Linked DNA regions of Homo sapiens: region 1 is linked to region 2. Evidence: promoter capture Hi-C in human tissues and cell types (Jung and others, 2019). All regions are on one chromosome and are shown on one strand. Each heading gives the region's core, a stretch centred on a gene start or on the middle of the fragment in contact. The rest is flanking DNA. Distances are from core to core; before and after follow the strand shown. Region 1 overlaps GCOM1 (GCOM1, MYZAP-POLR2M combined locus). Region 2 holds the start of CGNL1 (cingulin like 1).

Evidence for each region. The method cuts DNA at HindIII sites, captures the fragments that hold promoters and counts their contacts. A contact is called where the count stands out against the background at its distance.
Region 1: a contact is called between a fragment that was not itself captured here and the fragment with the promoter of CGNL1 in region 2, in 1 of the 25 tissues and cell types used here (neural progenitor cells).

The regions. Positions count from the first base shown.
Region 1 is chr15:57,683,246-57,685,945 of GRCh38, reverse strand. GCOM1 (GCOM1, MYZAP-POLR2M combined locus) reads right to left here. Exons shown (of 17, transcript NR_104371.3): 12 at 1,272-1,544. It overlaps MYZAP (myocardial zonula adherens protein), which reads right to left. Exons shown (of 13, transcript NM_001018100.5): 13 at 582-1,544. The coding sequence ends at 1,448. Among named protein-coding and RNA genes, the nearest start is that of POLR2M, 22 kb to the left of the region's middle. The HindIII fragment of the contact is 8,067 bases long and covers 1-2,700 here.
Region 2 is chr15:57,375,199-57,377,898 of GRCh38, reverse strand. It overlaps CGNL1 (cingulin like 1), which reads right to left and starts at 1,394. Exons shown (of 19, transcript NM_032866.5): 1 at 1,332-1,394. The HindIII fragment of the contact is 14,520 bases long and covers 1-2,700 here.

The DNA of each region.
Region 1 (2,700 bases), core at 193-2,692, 310 kb before region 2:
CTGCCTGTGTGCCTAGCAGTGCCCACTCCCTATGTGGGAATGACCTCATGTGGCACTCACGTCAGCCTATCAAGTAGGTGTGATAATCCGAGGTTTTTAAAGGATGAAACTAATATTCAGAGAGCCTTGACGACTCGCCCAAGGTCCCACGGACAGTGTTTAAATACAAATGTGGCTCCCAAATGCACATTTTCCTCTTAGCATGATTCTGACTCACAGTGATTTATCTAACTGAGTTGCTTTGCTTTCTTACTTTTTTATTTCTTTGGTTTTTTGGAAGTGGAGACAGTAAGGGGTGGGAGGTTTGAGGAAAGGTTTAAAAGTAAAATCTATTTTTGTACTTTGTGATCATTAAGGTATCTTGCTTTTTCCACATGGTGTATTAACTAAAGTTCAGCAATTAAAAAGACAGATAGGCCCCCCACCCTCCCCCGACACACACAGTCAATCTTATGGTTTACAGATGCTTGTATGAATTGTACTGGCTGGAAGATCATGTGATTTGACTTTGACACTCATTCCAGAGCCTGATCTGCTCTCTGCCCCTTCTACATGGTCATGGATGAAACAGAGAGACAACATTAGTAGAACAAAATATATGGTATTTATTAAACACATGTGACATAGGTTATAATATCAAAGTAGAGCATGCATGAACAGATGATTCATTCGTTTAACAAAAACACCAATTGATACTGAGAACACTAAATTATTAAATTTCCAAGACATATAAAATTCTCTTTAAGTTAAAGTGAGAAAGAAAAAAAAATCACTAGTTGAATAAATACAGTGATTTCAGCTGGTCCAATGAAAGCATAAGGCACAAATTAAACCAAGGGACTAGCGCATCAGAATGAAGCTTGTCTGGCCCACACAAGTCTCTCAGTGTGGCTCCCACGACCCTGCACAGATGCTTGGGACCAAGAGGAAAGAGCACCTGCAGGCCGGGAACCCTCCCTTCCAGGTTCAAGTTTGGCTGGGTGCCCATGCTTCTTGTGGACAGGCCTCTCTGTATCAGAGAAACGCTGCCTCTAATACTTTTATGGGTAAACAAAACCTTCATGCTCTATCAAACAATCCTGGCATGAATAACATGAAACTTCAAATTAATGTCCTTTTCCCTCCCAACCAAAGTCTAGCAAATAAAATACATTGTGAAGGAATCCTCCTGATAGGATTTCAGTGTCTACAAAGAAAACAAATGATGATGCAGTACGGCAGGGTATGCCGAGTGGGTGTCTGAAATGTGACCTTGTATATCCCTCTCTTACCTGCTCACTCTGCCTTCACTTTCCTTCCTGTCTTAGAAGTGGATCAGAGCCTCAGCGATTCCCATTCCGGCTTACACTGTGTGTAGGGGAAACAACAGTCACCCTTCCCAAAGGATTTGAAGCCACAGGGTTCCAGAGCTTTTGTCCATCTGTAAAAAGTGTATGCCTCTGAGTGCCTAAGTCAGAGTTTTCTTCATGGTTAACTCCAGGACTCTTGTGTATGGGGTGTAGTTCCTAGAAGGCATCACAATTTCACGAGTCCTGCCTGTTTGGCTGAGAAATGAGAAAATGCAGGTCAGGAAAATGAAACAAAACAAAACCCCCCATATGCTTCACATGGTAAGACAACTCTAGAAAATGGTGTTTAAGTGTTTAAAAATAAAAAGACAATAATGCAGCTTAATATTTCACTTAAATATTACAAACAGGCCCTGCAATGGACTTTACGTTTTCCCAAATTCATATTTTGAAATCCTAACCCCTAAGGTGATGTATTAGGAGGTGGGGACTTTGGGAGGTGATTAGGTCATGAGGGTGGAGCCCTCATGAATGGGATTAGTGGCCTTATGAGAGAGGCCCCAGGCCCAGCGTGGTGGCTCACGCCTGTAATCCCAGCACTTTGGAAGGCCGAGGCAGGGGGATCACCTGAAGTCGGGAGTTCGTGACCAGCCTGACCAACATGGAGAAACTCTGTCTCTACTAAAAATACAAAATTAGCTGGGCATGATGGCACATGCCTGTAATCCCAGCTACTCAGGAGGCTGAGGCAGAAGAACTGCTTGAACCCGGGAGGCAGAGGTTGCAGTAAGCCAAGTTCATGCCACTGCACTCCAGCCTGGGCAACAAGAGCTAAATTCCATCTCAAAAAAAAAAAGAGAGGCCCCAGAAATATTCATCATCATCCCTTCTGCTATGTGAGGACATAGCAAGAAGACACTATACATGAACCAGAAAGCAAGTCCTTGCCAAACACTGGATCTGCTGGCACCTTGGTCTTAGACATCCCAGCCTTCAGAACTGTGAGAAAAAAATTTCTGTTGTTTATAAGCTAACTAGTTTATGGTACTTTGTTATGGCAGCCAGAACAGACTACGACAGGTTAAAAATAAAAAAGTTATTTTTAACAACCTGTAAAGGTTGTACTAGGCATCCATGGTTCAGAAAAATATGAAACATGCATTCAAGGGACTTGTCACCTGGTGGGAAAGATATGTACATAAAAAATTTTCATGTACTGTGTTAGGAACTATAACAGAGACATAACAGCTGTGCTGGGCATTCTTCTTTTGCCATTCAGCCCTACTCTGCCCCTTCTCCACCCTACTCTGTGGCCCGGAAAAGTCAGCATCCATTTGCCCTTCAAATTCAGTTCCTTTTGGCCTACTGCAAGGTGGTAGCAGGGGATCAGGGAATGAGAGGACAAAGAGGT
Region 2 (2,700 bases), core at 145-2,644:
GGGGAGTCTCCGGAGGGTCTCCAAAAGCTGACCAAACCCTAAAGTATTTTTTCTCCTTTTAATCTGAAATCATTCCCGAATATGACAAGTCAAATTATCACTTGGTTTTCCCTGAATAGGACAACCCTGTATTATAACCTTGACCCTGACAAGGACTGCTCGGTTCTAATGCCTACACTCCCACCTCCTTGGCAGAAAGTGCCCTGGCAGTATTGACTGTAAACAGAGAGGTAGAAACAAAGGGATCTTCAGTAAAGGCACCATCTACTGTCTAAAGTTGGAAAGCACCAATCAACAGGTTCTTCAGGTGGAGAGGTGGATTAGGGAAGAGCTATGAGGACCTGAGATGAGTTCTAGATCAGGACTGATCTTGAGCCGTCCGAAGAGTGGCTGGTGGGAGCAACTCTCAAAGCAGAGGTTTTCAAACTTGCCTGCACATTAGAATCACCTGCGGCGTCTTAAAAATTCCATTGTCCAGGCTGCAACCCAGGCAAGCCGAATCCAGATCTCTGGGAGTGGGACACAGGCACCAGTATTTTTTAAAACTCTCCAGATGTGGGGCCAAGTTTGAGAACCAATGCCCGCAAAAGCATTCCCAGCGAGCTTTGAGCAACGTTTTGAGCGGCATAAGCAGAGTCGGGAGGGCAGCGGCCTTAGGGTGAAGAACACACAAAGCAAATATACAAAGTTTCAAAAATCCTGTGTAACTAACTCCAACATGACAGCCAAGTACCTGTCTAGAGGCCAAACAGTGATGCAACTTGGAAAAGTCCCGGGGAGAGCTAGAATGTGTGCTCCGAGTGAGGCGGGGGCTCTCTCGGGGATGACCTCCCTGGGCGGCGCAGTGGTCTGGAGGATCGGGGAGAGAAAGGTCACACGCCCCTTTCTTTCCAGGGGATGGTCCGGCCGAGCACGCCGAGGACTTGTGTACGACAGGATAGGTCAGAAACTGCTTCGTGTGAGTCTCTCCCAGCTGTCACTAGAGCCGGAGGGTCCAGGCAGGGGTGCGAAGGCAGAAAGTCCCTCTTCACTAAAGGGAGGTTCTGCAGGGCCTCCTCCCTCCCACCCCGCCCCGAAGCGGGTTCCCCAGGGATCGCCCGCATCTGTTCTGCGCCTGCCCTCGGCGGGGCGCGGCGCGGGAGTCCGGGTCGCATCTTCGAGCCCCAGGACACGCGCGGCGCGGGTCACCGAGAGTGGACGCGCGGACTGAGCACAGTGCACCTGGCTGAGCCCGAACCCCTGGGGGTCCCGCCGCCCTGGGCGGCCCCTAGCACCCCGAAACCCGGCTGCCGGCGCACACCCCGCCCCGCTCCAGCCCGGAGCTCACTCACCGCCGCCGCCGCCTCCTCCCGCGTCCAGCTCCCGCCGCAGCCAGCAGAGCCCGGCCGGAGTGCAAGGGCCGCGGCGCCGCCGGGAGGCCGAGCGAGCCCGCGCCCCGCCCCGCAGTCGCCGCCCGCCCTCCTGGGAGGAGGGGCAGGGGCTGGCCGGGGGCCTGGACCCGCCGGGGCTGCCGGCGGGCCCAACCCTCCCTTCAATCCGCCCGCGGCCCGTCGGGACGAACCTACCCAGGAACCCCCGCACCACCCGCCCTCGGCTCCGCTGGGCCCGGGGCTGCGCTTAGACCTCACCCCTTCCCGGAGCCGTTCGTCCTTCCACCTCCCCTCCGCCGTCACCGGGCATTTTTCTTCTCCCAGCCTCGGCCTCTCCAAATTCCTGGCCTGCAGGAAGCCCTCCCTATTTCGCGCTCTCGACTGCGCCGAGCTCAGTTTACCCCTTTCCCTTCCTTTCCCTGCTTAGCCTTTTTCCCCCTCACTGTCAGAAACTTAAGGGATAGCGCTCTTCTGCCACCGCAAACCCACACCTATTTATTGAGCACCTACTGTGTCTAGACACTGGTGGGGAGGTTATCCCACTTGCGCGGTAACAAGAAATGTCTGTCTCTGTTGGAGAAACAGTAAAGTGAGGCGCCTCGTAAGGTCACACAGCTGGCGGTAGTAGGGCTGGGATTCGAATACAGTTTTTAGGTCCTTGTTTAGACCCACCCCACGATAAACTGCGGCACGCCTCTCGCTAGCTGTGAGAACTTGGGCAAAATGTTATCAGTTCTAAACCCCAGTTCACTCATCCGTAAAATGAAAAGCTGGATACTTCACCAGCTATGAGGATTCCCTGAGAAAACAACAACCTGTACTTTTTTTTTTTTTTTTTTTTTTTGGAGATGGAGTCTTGCTGTTTTGCCCAGGCTGGAGTGCAGTAGCGCGATCTCGGCTCATTGCCTCTGCCTCCCGGGTTCAAGCGATTCTCGTGCCTCAGCCTCCCGAGTAGCTGGGACTACAGGTGGCCACCACTACGCGCGGCTAATTTTTGTGTTTTTAGTAGAGACGGGGTTTCACCACGTTGGTCAGGCTGGTCTCGAACTCCTGACCTTAAGTAATCTACCCGCCTCGGCCTCCCAAAGTGCTGGGATTACAGATGTGAGCCACTGCGCCCTGCCCAACCTGTACTTAATACATGTTTGCTGACATATTGAATGAAATAGACCCTTGAAAACTTAACAATTCAAAACAATATAAAAGGACTTGAAAAAGTAATAGGTTGGTGCAAAAGTAATTGCAGTTTTGCTATTACTTTCAATGGGAAAAGCCACAGTTACTTTTGCTCCGACCTAATAATAGTGATTCATTGCCAGGAAAGAAAGAA